5 separate regions of the Homo sapiens genome follow, and regions 1, 2, 3 and 5 are each linked to region 4. Evidence: promoter capture Hi-C in 16 types of primary human blood cells and fetal thymus (Javierre and others, 2016). All regions are on one chromosome and are shown on one strand. Each heading gives the region's core, a stretch centred on a gene start or on the middle of the fragment in contact. The rest is flanking DNA. Distances are from core to core; before and after follow the strand shown. Region 1 overlaps LACTB2 (lactamase beta 2). Region 2 has its middle 75 kb from the start of XKR9. Region 3 holds the start of NCOA2 (nuclear receptor coactivator 2). Region 4 holds the start of MSC (musculin). Region 5 overlaps LACTB2-AS1 (LACTB2 antisense RNA 1).

Region 1 (2,700 bases), core at 20-2,519, 1.2 Mb before region 4:
ACTGTTTCACAGTAACACCTCAATAATTCAGGCTGGCTGACAGATTAGCCTTGATGAAAAGTCTGAGTTATTCATTAATTGATCAATAACTGTTTATGGATTACCTAATATGTGCTACAAATTTGTTTCTTGCAGTAAGCAGGACACAACAACCCTGCTTACATTCAACTGTTGGTGAGAAGGGGAACTGCATATGACTGGAAATAAACAATAAAAGTAACATACCATAGAAAGCATTTTGCAAAGCATTAAAATTAAACAGTGAGTAACTGGATGGTTATTTTTTATTGGTTTGTTTCCCTAACCCTACTCCCTGAGACCCAGAGCCAACAAAAACAAACTGGCCTCTCATAAGGGAGGAGGGTAATGGCCTCATAGCCCATTGGCTTCTATCTGCACCCTATGTTCTGTAGCACAGTAGATGTCCTTCAGAAACACAGTGTTGAACTGTCCTATCCGGAGACAGGAGACCAGATGGTTACACTGGACCAAGAGGGCATTTATTATAGGGTTCTGTTGGTAGTGGAAATGTAAGGAAGAGATGGCTTTAAGAACATTTAGAAGGTACAATCAACCAACCACCAGGATATTTGTTAAACAACGAGATGTGGAAGGAGGGAAACAGTTGGCGACTCTGAGGTTTCTAGGTGGGAGGATTGGTGTGCCATTAATCAAGAAGGTAAACCCTGGAGGGAGCAAATTTGAGATGAGTTTGACTCGGGTCAGAGTGAGTTCTGATGCTATTCCTAGCCATCTTATCTTGCTTTTTTTCCATAGCAATTATTACCATGTAATATATTATGTATTTACATATTTATTTTTTTATTGCCTATTTCCACAACCAACACCACCGTACAAATTTGAGTCCCTTCAGGGCAGAAAGCTTGTCTGTTTGGTTCAAGGAATTTATGGATTTATTTCTATATCCATAATACATTGTACTGCACTTAGCATTGTGCATATTTAGTTATGCTAAATTAAAATACACAAGACTATAATACTATGATACCTCCAATAATACTCTCTAGCCCACCCATCCTAGATTTTGGCTGCCTCCATGCATTTGCAGTTATTTACCACAAATTCTCACTGCCCCTAACGTAGAGTCACTGGGACTATTTTTGTGGGTCTTCTGGTCCTCACAAAAAGAATACTTCCATGCTTCAGGTAAGGCTCAAATTTTTTCAATCCATCAAGGCCCCACCACTTTTAAAATTATTTCTTAATCCTTGCCTTCCCGTCCTCCCAAGAAACTCTGTTTTGAAATATCTCCTAATCTAAAAATGAATATAAATTTCTGTAATTTAATGACCAGATCACATCACACTGATCAAAAGTCATGACAAAATTAACAGGGTTGATACATGAATTTGATAAAATCTAGTAGCAAAGAAAACAGATCTTTTAGAATGCCTGTGCTGGTTGTTTGCAGGTGAAAGTGTGAGTGACCATACGACTGTGGTAGTGGAGAACATGTTTCTGGGGCTCCAGTTTTAGGTCTCTTAATGGTCCTGTCTTGGTTTAACAAAATTGGAATTGATAAAAGAAGGGCTCTCAAAAGAAAGAAAACAGAAAAAAGTTCTGGAATTAATACAATCTATTCAGAACAAAGGAGGGGTGTCTAGATACTATAAAACCTAAAACATGAGTTTGCACCAAGCTTTGAGGGAAAAAAAAAGTCACACTGATAACATATGACATTGACATAGCAATTTAAACCATTTGGGGCTTTCATATTTACTATTTCTTTTGATCCTCATATCAACTCTAGGGAGGTATTATTACTTTATTAATTATTTATTTTATAGAAAACTTATCTTCAGAAAGGCTAAGTGATTTGCTCCAGGTCATATAACCAGCAAGAGGCAGTGCTAGGAAGCACTAGATGTTCAGATACAAGGTCCAGTGACTTCTCCATTCAAAACACTGCCTCTCTAGCAGAAGGGGATTGCTTAGGTTAAGTGCTTAGAATCATTATGTGGCAAAAATAAAACTTCAGCTATACATTTGAAAAAACTGTTATCAGTTTTGAAATTGAAAAAAATGTTATCAGTTTCTCCCTTAGCAAACAGTTACTCTATCAGTGATGTCTGTAAATAGTTATAATAGATGATTGGATAGTATCATCTCTACATGGGCTAGTTGACTTTGTTCTTCTTGGCCACAGATAATAATATCCCTATCTCAGGAGGTCATTTTGCAAATGCAAATTATGCTAATGAAGGGCTCAAGGGAAGAGTATGGATGAATCTGTATAGGTCTATGAACGATTTATTCACTAGAGCAAAGTGCCTGGCACATAGTAGGCACACAATAACTGTTTGCTACATGAATGGAGAAAAAAATTTTTAATTGATGGAAAATTAGTAGAATCAAATTCCTTGTTATAGGTATTTCATGTCAATATTAAGATAGCTATTAACTGGTCTCTATTTGCTGTCACTCTTATAAAATCATTAGATATTTTCTGAACACCTACTATGAGCACAGTGTTATCTAGATGTTATGAGGAAAGCAGAAGTGATAAACATAATGGCTAACATGGTATGTTTTCCACGTGCTAGAACTTGTTAAGTGCTTTTCATATACGTTTTTTCACTTAAATTTCACTGAGCCCTTATAAAATCCAATGAGGTAGGTACTACACAACCTTCATTGGGTTGTATCAGGAATCTGAAGCTTAGAACTGTCTTGTCCAAA
Region 2 (2,700 bases), core at 175-2,674, 1.1 Mb before region 4:
AATTCCAATACCTGGGTCATTTTGGGATTGGTCTCCATTCATTGCCTTTTCTCTTGAGTATGGGTTACATTTTCACGTTTGCTCATATGGCTACTAATTTTGAATTGTTTCCTGGATGGTATGAATGATACATTTTAGATCCTCTTGATTATTTTTGTTCTTCAGAGAAACATTTTTTTTTCTTTTCAGCAGGCAGTAACTTGAACTTTAAACTCTGAACTCTAAACAATCTTTATTTAACCTTCAGTGAGCTGCATCGAGTCTTCCCCTTATATGCATAGTTCACGGTCAGCCTAAAATTGGGCAGAATTAATATATGAAGTGAGACTTCCTTTCTGTTGGTTCTATTTTTCTCCTAGATTTTCCACCTCATTTTTCAGCAGTTGTGATCACCACATACTCTGTTCTCTGGGCCTTAAAACCACTAAAACTGTAGGTTTTTAAATTTGGATTTTGTGTAGTTGGTATGCTGAGTGGGGTCTGCTCTCACTCAGTGCCATTCCTTCTTCCAGATGTCGACCTCTCTCCAGTGTCTGCTTGCTTTTTTTTGCTGTGAAGTGCTTTGAGGTAATTACCAGTGTTTTGTCCAGAGTTCATAGTGGTTATTTGTGAGACGATTTGTGCAGTAAGAGATATACCCACCTTCTTATTAATCTATAACATTTTCAGTAATCTTTCTGTAATGTTTGCCAGTCTTTCTGCCAGCACTTTGGGAGGCTGAGGCGGGTGCATTACCTGACGTCAGGAGTTCAAGACCACTCTGGTCAACATGATGAAACCCCATCTCTACTAAAAATACAAAAATTAGCTAGGTGTGGTAGCAGGCGCCTCTAATCCCAGCTACTTGGGAGGCTGAGGAAGGAGAATCACTCGAACTGGGGAGGCAGAAGCTGCAGTGAGCCGAGATCATGCCATTGCACTGCAGCCTGGGTGACAGAGCGAGACTTCGCCTCAAAAAAAAAAAATCTTTCTGTAATATTTACTTAGACAAGATGTGTAAAGCTTTTTAACATTTAGTTCTCTCTCATCCCTACTTATGACCCTGATAAAAACTGCAATATAGATATTATTATCATCACTACCCTTTAACTGGGAGAACCAAGGCTCATAGAGTTTAAGTAATTTGCCAAAGTCCACACAGATCCAATCTCAGGCTTTTTCACCTCAAATCCAGTTCATTTTTTGTGAAACCATGCTATCTTTATCTGATGAATAGGTTACCTACAGCTATGCTAAGTTATGCATTATTTAAAAATTATTATTTTTGTGATAGAGTCTTGCTCTGTCACCCAGGCTGGAGTGCAGTGGTGCGATCGTGGCTCACCACAACCTCCACCTCCTGGGTTCGCGTGATTCTTGTGCCTCAGCCACTCAGGTAGCTGGGACTACAGGTGTGCACCACCACGCCTGGCTAATTTTTGTATTTTTGGTAGAGATTGGGTTTTGCCATGTTGGCCAGGCTGGTCTTAAACTCTTGGCCTCAAGTGATCTACCTGCCTCGGCCTCCCAAAGTGCTGGGATTACAGGCATGAGTTACCATGCCAGCCTGAATGATTTATTTGCCTATGATATAGTTTTTTAAAAAGTCTAGCCTAAATGTTTTTCAGCTTTAGCTCAAGGTAGAGCTGGACTTGTGTCACTGTTAGCTTGAATAATCCAATTAACAATATATGTAATGGGAAAAAGGGTAGGAAATAATATATTATACATCTACTAAGGAGCTTGAATGCTAAGTGTCCCACACAAACATAGATTAAGTATTCATTCCATCCAACAAACATTTTCTTATTGGTTTTATAGCCAAGAAATAAATGGGAAGATCCTGGTCAGATGTTTTGGCTAAATAGTAAGCTTTTAAAATGAACTTTTAATATAGAATGAACTTAATTAATTTTATCCTCATGTTCTATATGGTTCAGTCATGGCTTTATAAGACTTTTAAATTTCCGCAACTAAATTTTGGGCTTTTTCTAGATTATTATGTGTATATAAAAGGCCTTTTGAAATTTAAAAAAGAAAAATAATTATGAGCAATACTTTCATAAAAGAACACTCATATGCACCTATATACATTCACATCTTCAAATATGAATACTCTCCTCATAGACTAGTGGTTCTCAACCTTTAGTGTGCATCAGAATCTCCTGGAGTGCTTATTGAAACACATTGCTGGCCCCTATCCTGAGTTTCTTTTTAGTAGGCATTAGGTAGGGCTTGAAATTTGCGTGTTTAAAAAAGTTCCCGGATGTTGCTGATGCTGCTGTTCTCCCCTCCCTTCTTTGAGAATCCCCGTTGACTTTTGAAGGCTATCAGTTAATAATTAGTTTCAAAACAGCCACTAGAGGGCAATGGAACCACAGAGAAATTGGACGTGCTGCCTAATTTGTTCCCTGGTTTATGGGATCAACTATGTATTGCTACAAGCCAGGAGAACACCAAAGCCAAACATTAATTTCTTGCACAATATCTTGATGCTCATTTCCAATTGTAAATCTTGTCCTTGTGATTGTGGGGGTCAGAGATATATAATGCATCTCTAACTCTGGCTGATGCCCCACTTAATGATTACAATAAATTCAAAGTTGGACTTTTCTAGCTGAGCATTTGCACATATACATGTCTTTGGGGTTAACATGAACCATTTGTCGTTTCCCAAAGAGGCTATATTTTGATATTAGATCTAGTTTGTTACAGAGATGA
Region 3 (2,700 bases), core at 87-2,586, 1.4 Mb before region 4:
AGGGGCCATCTAACCAGGGACCGACCCACCCCCGGTCTCGGAAGAGGCGCCTCTGGGACTCCCCCGAGGGGAGGAGGCGGGGAGCGCAGCCGGCAGCGACGACCCCGGCCCCCTCCCCCAGCACCCCCCAGGGGCCCGAGAGGGCCGGGTCCCCGTGCCCGGGGCGTGACCGTCGCGAGGCGGCCACAGGGCCCCTCCCGCTTCCCGCCTGGGGCCCCGAGGGCCTGTCCCTTCAGGGGCGGAGAGAAGGGGGCGAGAAAAGGGGGCGCTGGCGAGCCAACCCGGAACCTCCCGGTCCGCCTCCCGCCCCCGGCCCCGGCCCCAGCGCGCCTCCTGCATACACGCCCGCACCCAGAAAGTTCAGTCAGGGGCGAGCCCGGCTCGGCGCCGCCGGGGCCCGGCCCCCGGCTCCCCGCCCCCACCACGGCCCGGCCTGCTCGGCCCCAGCGCGCCGCCCGCCCCGCCCGCCGCAGCTCCTTCCCGTCCGCCCGCGGTGCTCGGCGCCCCTCGCCCCCCACCCCCGGGGCTGACACGGGCCCGGGCCACCCGCCGGGCCGCGGCTCCCCTTCCCCGCCCCGCGCTGCAGCTCGCCGGCCGCCCCGACACCCCGCTTCACCTTCACACACCCCCAGCACTTCCCGAGTCCTGCCTCCCCTCGCCCGGCTCCCACTCTCCGCTGCAGCCGCTCCGCGCTTCCATTAAAGAATGCACCTTCCCAGGATTCACCTTCTCGGCTCTGCCGCGCTGCCCCCGAGGGGTTAGAGCCTCGGTCTCCGCCGACCCCGCACCGGGCTGGGCAATGGGCACTCGCTCCTCGGGGCGGGGGCCGCGCCCGCACCCCCGGCCGCGCCTCGGCGCTCACCTCTCGCCCGCGCCGCGGGCTGCAGCCTCCGCCCGCCTCGCGCTCCGGGACTCGTCTCCTGAGCTCTCGCAAGGCGCTGGAGCGCCTCCTTTCTCTCCCGGGGACTCCGCGTCTCCCCGTCGCTTCCCGCCCTCCCCACCCCCAAGCCCCAACTCCCCAGCGTCGCTGCGCCTCCGGGATGCAACTCCCGTTTTCCGCGCACTCCGGCGGCGGTCCCCGCACACAAAAACAGCCTCTCGGAGGCGCACGGCTCTGTCGGAGCTCGGCGCAGGAAGGGCAGTCGCGGCCGGGGGTGGGGACGCGGCGCCCCCCGCCTGCCGCCCGCCCCCCGCCCGCCCTCGCGGCCCCGGGGGAAGGCGCGGTTACCGGCTCGGGTCGGTCACGCCGTCAGGTGCCGGCTGCCGTCGGCGCTGACCTTCGCCGCCGAAGCTGTAGCCGAGGCTGCGGCCGCCATGTTCCCGTGTTAATAACTGCTGCCTGGTTGTTTATTTCAATGGAGATCCTCCCCCAACTCCCTCCTCCTCCTCCTCCTCCTCCTCCTCCTCCGCGTCTCCGCACTTGCGGAGAGACAGACAGCGCGAGCTCGCGAGCAGGGGAGGGGGCTCGGGAGCCAGGCCGTCCCTCCCTCTGCCTCCCCGGCAGTGGCCGCCGCCAAGTCCTGTCACCGGGAAAAGGACGGGGCGGAAACTTGCCTCTCGCGCCCCCGAGGAAGGGGCAAAGGTGGACGCAGGGTTGTCCGGGGAGCAGCCCCTGGCCGCGGGGTCCGCAGCATCTCCGTCGGCAGAGTCCTCTGAGAAGGCGGCCCGGGGAGAGGTGAAGAAGAGTAAGGGGACAGGGGACAAAATGGGTGACTGTGGTAGAGGGAGGGTGACCTAGAGGTGACTGGAACTGAAGAGAGAGTCAACAGAGGACTGCATGGGAGGGCAAAGGGCAATGCCAAAAAGAAAACTAGCGACTGGGACGGGCCTGGGCCGCTGAGTTAGAGGCAGTGGGGCCTGGGGGCTGCAGACGGCAGGGACGGTGCCCCAGGACGAAGATCGGGGAGAGCCGAGTTCCAGGGTCGCCAGCAGAGGACCCTCGCGCCCGTCCGGCCGGACCCTTCGGCCAGCACCCTGCACCCCCTCGGGCGCACCTCACCCTACCCAACTCCCGGTCCTGCCGCTGCTCCCCGGAGGCGCCCCGCATCCGTCAAGTCCCCTACGGCTCCAACAGGGAGAGGCTTCTCCCATTGCAGTCCTAGCTCCAGAGGGGATGGAGAGGCGCGACTGTGGGAGCTGGAAGGGGCACCACCCGGCAATTGCGGGATAAAGCAAATGCTGCACACAGAGTGTGAAACTTAACCTGGTTGAGAATTTTCGGCACATCATGAAATCATAAGTTTGTATTGGAAAGTCCATTCTCTAGACATCCGTGAACAAAGTACTGAGGGGACGTAGGAGATTGGCACTGAAAATGCGAGAACCCCCATTTAAGTGTTACTTAGACCAATCTGTTTTACGCTTTGGAAAAGCAAGTTTTTTTTCCAACTTATACGGTAATTAGTTGAAAAAAAAAACTTTTGTTTAATGGCAGTTATCAAACTATGAGAGGAACATATTCCCTGATTTTAATCTTATAATGAGAAAGGTCACTTGCGGTAGACAATAAGAGTGTTTATTGAACACTTACTGTGAATCTGACTGTGCTAGGTGATGTATATATGCTATAGGCCTTAATCCTCAAACCTTCCGAAGTCATTGCCGCTTTTCACTTCACACAAAAAATTGAAGCTTAAAGTAATTTGCCCAGGGTCACAGCCAGTAGTTGGAGAGGATGTGAGCCCAGTTCTGGTGAGCTCC
Region 4 (2,700 bases), core at 60-2,559:
AGTAGGAACTGGGCTTGGACAGGATTTTTCCCAAGCCGGGAGAGCTGGCAGATCAGAGAGGGACTTTCCAGATAAATCCCATCTGGGGAAACGTTACTATCTTCCACAAGCAATTTTTCTAAAAATGCAAATGCTCTTTTATAGAGCTCGGCCTTCCCTCCTTTAAGAAAGGGCTTGCCGATTCAAACCTGCCCGACTCAGCTGGATTAAGTTGGGCAAGGGAGATTTGCCGTCAGTCTGCAACCTGGTGGCAGATGGAGATGGAACCAAGATTTACCCTGGAAGTAGGATATTAGTCAATGGCTGTCACTGGGGTACAATGTTCAGAACGATGCAAACAGACACGGAGGGTTGATTCTTCTTCAGGGAAATGGCTGGCCACTCCCTTGATTTGGGAGAAACTAAACTGGCCTTCTCGTTCCCAGTCCCAGAACCTCCACCCCTTTCGAATTCTTCCCAACGGGCTGACCCTGCCCGGCGCCCAGGAGCGCCCTGGGTATCTCCTGGCTGCTCTCCCGAATCCTTGCGCGCCGCGCCCCTACCAGGTTCACTGGGTGCACGTAGCCGTTCTCATAGCGGTCCTCCTGCAACAGCTGCCGCAGGTGAGCGATGTAACTGGAAGCCAGCCGGAGCGTGTCCAGCTTGGAGAGCTTAGTGTCGGGGGGCACCCAGGGCAGGCTGGTCTTGAGCCTGGAGAAGGCTTTGCTCAGCACGCGCATCCGGGCACGCTCACGGGCGTTGGCCGCGTTCCGCTGCGACTGCTTGCACTCTGCGGCTGAGCCCTTGGCCGGGAGGGGCTTCTTGCCACCACCGCCCGCGCTACCACCTGCGCCGCCGCCCCCAGCCACACGGGGCCGCTTCCTCTTGCAGCCTTCCGCGCTGCCGGCTGTGCCCAGAGCGCAGCGCTCCTCCTCGCCGTCGGGGTCCTCCTCCTCTGCCGACGAGTTGTCACTGGGCGAGGCGTAGCTGCGCTCTACGCCGCGGAGGGGCGGCCTCTTGGAGGCGGGGACCGGGTACTCCCGCTGCAGCCCCCGAAGCTCCATCTCCTCCGGATCACTCACCGAGCCCGTGGACATCCCGTTGTCCCCCTTGCCCACACGCGTCCTCTTTCCTCCCCCCTGGCCAGTCTCGCTGTCTCCGCCTTCCGCTCCCTGGCGGAGGCGGAGGCCAGAGAGCGCTCCAAGGAAGACTAAAAACCCAGGCCGGGAAGCGCGGGGTGAGAAAGCGAGGTGGGTGGCGAGAGCGTGAGCGCCCCTCTGCTGACCCCGGGGAGCGTGGACTACGAGTTGGCGCCCAAGTCCAGAATCCGCGCGCACCGCGGTAAGCTGCGCCTTTTGAAAAGGCTATCTGTACTCCTTGGAACAAACCACCCCGGGCAAAGAAGAGGGGGTTGTAAAGGGGGCCAAGAGGTGGGGCAGGGGCGTGGAAGGGGTGGGGACCGCTTTTCTGCATGCCGAAGAGCGGTTGGTGGAGGCGGGGGAAGGGGACGTCTCTGCAGAGCCGAGATTTGGGCTCTGAAGCCCGACGGCCCTTCAACATGTCTGCGCAGGATAAGTGAGCTTTCGGGGAGTGAAGGGGCACATCTTGTTCCTACCGACGGTGCTTCTACCCCCAGGTAATCTTAGCAGTGGCAAAGATTACCAGACACTTAGAAACGACGGGATTCCGACCTCTGCTTGCCTGCCAGTCTTTCCAGTAGAACTCAGTTTTCAAGTTAACCATTCATGATGTATGATTGTCTACCCAAGCCTTGCTGGACAAGAGAAAAAGCAGAACAGGCAAACAACATCCAACAATGCACAAGTTACCTCTCATTTTCCTCCTCCTTTTCTTATAATATACCTTCATGGTTTACAAAAATGGTTACAATGGTTCGTTGCCTTTTCAAATAACATCTGTAACTTAATGATATTATCTCCAATTTGCAGAACTTGAAGCTGAGCCGCCTAGATAGACGTTAAGTAAAAGACCCAAACTTATTAGGCTAAGTAGAAAAAAAGATTCAAAATCCGCGTTTTGAAATTCTGGCCCGTCGGTATTCTAGTCAGCTCCGTGCCTCCGGGTCACACATCACTGGATGTTGTAGCTGGTATTTTCCACTATCTTGAGAGTTCCATGCGTGATGTGATTTTGTTTTAATACCACAATGCGTGTGTTGGAGGATCCGGCCCTAAAGCTTTGCATTATAATGTAGGGAATCCTTGCTATTGTATTTAATAGATTGTGTATTGAAGAGCGAGCTCCTGGAAGCAGAATGCTAAGTTAGCACAATCGTCCATTCAAAGTAAAAACGACAAAGGAGCACCCTGAATGATCATGTTCCATTCCAAACAAGACTAAAACATCCTGCTCTTCCACACAAGAAAACACAACAATTTTGCAGTCTCATTATTTCCTAACTCGAAGGTCATCGCAGTTCCTGGTCAGGGGATAAGTACGTCTGTGGATACGGGCCCCAGTGGTCAGAGACTGAGTGCCCGCTGTGTGCCCGTCACTGTACTCGCGGCTTGTGAGCAGCTCACTGAGTAATAAAACCCGTATGAGTTTGGCATATGGTTACCCCATTTTACAATGATGAAACTGAGTCGTCACACAGGCTTAGGTGTTCACTTGTTCTTTTCCTGAAAGTCCACAGGCTCCCAAGCTGAGCAAGGTGCAAGGGGACCTATGTGGAGTCAGTCCAGGACAGAGCTGGCAGAG
Region 5 (2,700 bases), core at 125-2,624, 1.2 Mb before region 4:
TTCCCATGCTCTCCCCTGCCTTTGCGTGTACTGCTGTCTCTGTCTGGAATGTTTTCTCCTGTCCTTTCATAGACACAGCAGGCTCCTGCTGTTCCTTCATGTCTCATTTACACATGACCTCTTCGAAAGCTTCACTGAATTCTGTGACCTAAGCAATTTATCTTTTATGATTCAATTGCATTTTTGAAATAGTTTTATTGCAGTATAATTTATGTCATATAGTTCAGCTATTTGAGATATTCAATTCTGTGGTTTTTAGTATGTTTGCAAAGTTGTGCAACAATCACCATAATATAACTTTAGAACATTCTTGTAATCTCTAAAAGAAACCTTATACACATTACCAGTAACTCTCCATTTCCCCTCATAGTCTTGGCAGCCCTTGGCAACAACTGACCTATTTTCTACCTCTCTATATTTGCTTATTGTGGACATTTCTTTTTGTTCTTTCTTTGTTTCTTTTCTTTCTTTTTTTGAGATGGGGTCTTGCTCTGTTGCCTAGGCTGGTGTACAGTGGCATGATCATAGCTCACTGCAACCTTGGACTCCTGGCCTCAAGAAATTCTCCCACCTCCCAAAGTGCTGGGATTACAGGTGTGAACCACCATGGCCAGCTTGGACATTACATGTAAATAGAATCATGATCTTTTGTGACTGACTTCTTTCACTGAAGATAATGTTTCCAAGGTTCATCGATGTTGTAACATGTATCAGTACTTCACTCCTTTTTATGGCCAAATAATATTCCATTGTATGGCTATAGCACATCTTATTCATCAGTTGATGAACATTTGTGTACAAGTTTTTGTTTGAACTCAATTCCTTTGGGTATATACCTAGCAGTGGAATTGCTGATCATAAGGCAACTTTATGTTTGACGTTTTGAGGAACTCTCACACTAATTTCCAAAGTGAATGCACTATTTCCCATCCTATTAGCAATGTGTAGAGGTTCCAATTTCTTCCCATCCTTGCCAATACTTTTATTTTCTGTCTTTTAATCTTATCTGTCCTAGTGGGTGTGAAGTAATATCTCATTGTGATTTTGCTTTGCATTTCCCTGAGCACTAATGATATTGACTACTAGCCTTATCAGGTGCTCAGAAGCCATCTGTATATCTTTTTTTGTAGAAATGTCTATTCAAATCCTTTATCATTTCTAAGTTGGATTAATTTTTTAAAGTTTATTGAGTTGTAAGGGTTTAAAAATATCTATTCTATATGTCCATGTTGTTCTGTAATTTATTTTAAAAAATAAAAGATAGATTCTAGATCTTAGCAGATATATGATTTGAAAATATTTTCTTTCAGTCTGTCTTTTTACTTTCTTGATGGTTTTCTTTGAAGCACAAAAGTTTTTAATTCAGCAAAGTCCAACTTACCTGTTTTCTCTTTAATCACTTGCTATTGTTGTCCTATATAAGAAATCAGTGCCTAACCCAAGATTCCAAAGATTTACTCCTGTGTTTTCTTCTAAGAGTTTTATGGTTTTAGCTCTTACACTTGGGTCTATGAGGACTCACTTGTATTTTGTACATAATTTCATTTTAGCAATAATCATACTATCTTCTATTGTTTGCAAGTCTGTCTTCCCACTAGACTGGTACTCCTCAGGAACTGGGAGTTGTTTCATTTTTCCAGCTCCTACTACCTGGTGCTATACTGTCAAATATTTAGTGGTCATTATTTATTGAGGGAATGAAAAGAAAAAATACCTCACATAAATGAGAATAAAACCTTAAGATAGTTTAACCAAGAAACAAACATAAAAATGATATATGGCTCTACAAAGTTACTCATTTTAAATATATTTAAAGAAGACTTGCAATGCACCAAGCAAGTCCTGAGTTGTAGGATATAATTATTAACAAGACAGATTTAGTCTTTGTTCTTGAAACGCATACCTGGAATAGAAGACAGACAGTAAACAATGACCAATGTGATGGATATTTACAAAGAGACAGTGCAAGGTGCAGTAGAAGTGTTCTAGGTCATTTGGAAATGAATTGCTCTACTAATGTCAGTTTTTAAACTGAAATTGGTCCTTTCAAACCTTAGAATCTGGTGATTTTTCACTCCTTTGTGAGAAGACCACATTGGTCTTCTTTCAGCTGCTTAAACATATCATACTCTGGCCAGCCATAGGACTTGAGATGACCATTGGGTTTTTGTTGTTGTTGTTTGTTTGTTTGTTTTTGAGATGGAATCTCGCTCTGTTGCCCAGGCTGGAGTGCAGTGGCACGATCTCAGCTCACTGCAACCTCTGCCTCCCAGGTTCAAGTGATTCTCCTGCCTCAACCTCCTGAGTAGCTGGGATTACAGGCACGTGCCACCAGGCCTGGCTAATTTTTGTATTTTAGTAGAGATGGGGTTTCACCATGTTGGTCAGGCTGGTCTCGAACTCCTGACCTTGTGATCCACTCGCCTTAGGCTCCCAAAGTGCTGGGATTACAGGTGTGAGCCATTGCGCCTAGTGACCACTGGGTTTGGTAAGATGGAGGTTGTGTGGTTATGTTAGTTTGGGTTGTCCAGGAAATAGATGCCAAGAAGGAGTTAGAAGCATAAGAGACTTATTGGCAATAACATTTGTGAAAATTAAAGGGGAGGGGAGTTAACAGGGAAAAGCTTCAGGCTGTAATGTAGATCTGATCCCTGTGAAAGGAAGGAAGAAGGATCAGGCAGGAAGAGCCTCAGACTGAGG

The links. Contacts are between HindIII fragments. The CHiCAGO score rates a contact against its expected background, and 5 or more counts as called.
Region 1: a fragment that was not itself captured here is called in contact with the fragment with the promoter of MSC in region 4 in 1 of 17 cell types (M0 macrophages); the score reaches 5.7 in M0 macrophages.
Region 2: a fragment that was not itself captured here is called in contact with the fragment with the promoter of MSC in region 4 in 1 of 17 cell types (endothelial precursors); the score reaches 5.2 in endothelial precursors.
Region 3: the fragment with the promoter of NCOA2 here is called in contact with the fragment with the promoter of MSC in region 4 in 2 of 17 cell types (M0 macrophages and M2 macrophages); the score reaches 9.0 in M0 macrophages.
Region 5: a contact is called between a fragment that was not itself captured here and the fragment with the promoter of MSC in region 4, in 1 of 17 cell types (M2 macrophages). The highest score is 7.2, in M2 macrophages.

Annotation. Positions count from the first base shown.
Region 1 is chr8:70,663,021-70,665,720 of GRCh38, forward strand. All of the region lies in intron 1 of LACTB2 (lactamase beta 2), which reads right to left. It overlaps LACTB2-AS1 (LACTB2 antisense RNA 1), which reads left to right. Exons shown (of 4, transcript NR_038881.1): 4 at 1-259. Among named protein-coding and RNA genes, the nearest start is that of LACTB2, 4.8 kb to the right of the region's middle. The HindIII fragment of the contact is 777 bases long and covers 882-1,658 here.
Region 2 is chr8:70,743,358-70,746,057 of GRCh38, forward strand. It overlaps a transcript of XKR9 not described here. Among named protein-coding and RNA genes, the nearest start is that of XKR9, 75 kb to the left of the region's middle. The HindIII fragment of the contact is 849 bases long and covers 1,001-1,849 here.
Region 3 is chr8:70,402,472-70,405,171 of GRCh38, forward strand. NCOA2 (nuclear receptor coactivator 2) reads right to left here and starts at 1,337. Exons shown (of 23, transcript NM_006540.4): 1 at 1,229-1,337. RefSeq lists silencers at 1-593, 624-913, 954-1,263, 1,954-2,113 and an enhancer at 1,734-1,853. The HindIII fragment of the contact is 4,231 bases long and covers 1-2,629 here.
Region 4 is chr8:71,843,103-71,845,802 of GRCh38, forward strand. It overlaps MSC (musculin), which reads right to left and starts at 1,310. Exons shown (of 2, transcript NM_005098.4): 1 at 543-1,310. The coding sequence starts at 1,076. It overlaps MSC-AS1 (MSC antisense RNA 1), which reads left to right and starts at 21. Exons shown (of 5, transcript NR_033652.1): 1 at 21-602; 2 at 1,127-1,320. RefSeq lists a silencer at 659-928. The HindIII fragment of the contact is 4,753 bases long and covers 1-2,174 here.
Region 5 is chr8:70,610,388-70,613,087 of GRCh38, forward strand. All of the region lies in intron 1 of LACTB2-AS1 (LACTB2 antisense RNA 1), which reads left to right. Among named protein-coding and RNA genes, the nearest start is that of LACTB2-AS1, 3.2 kb to the left of the region's middle. The HindIII fragment of the contact is 2,495 bases long and covers 128-2,622 here.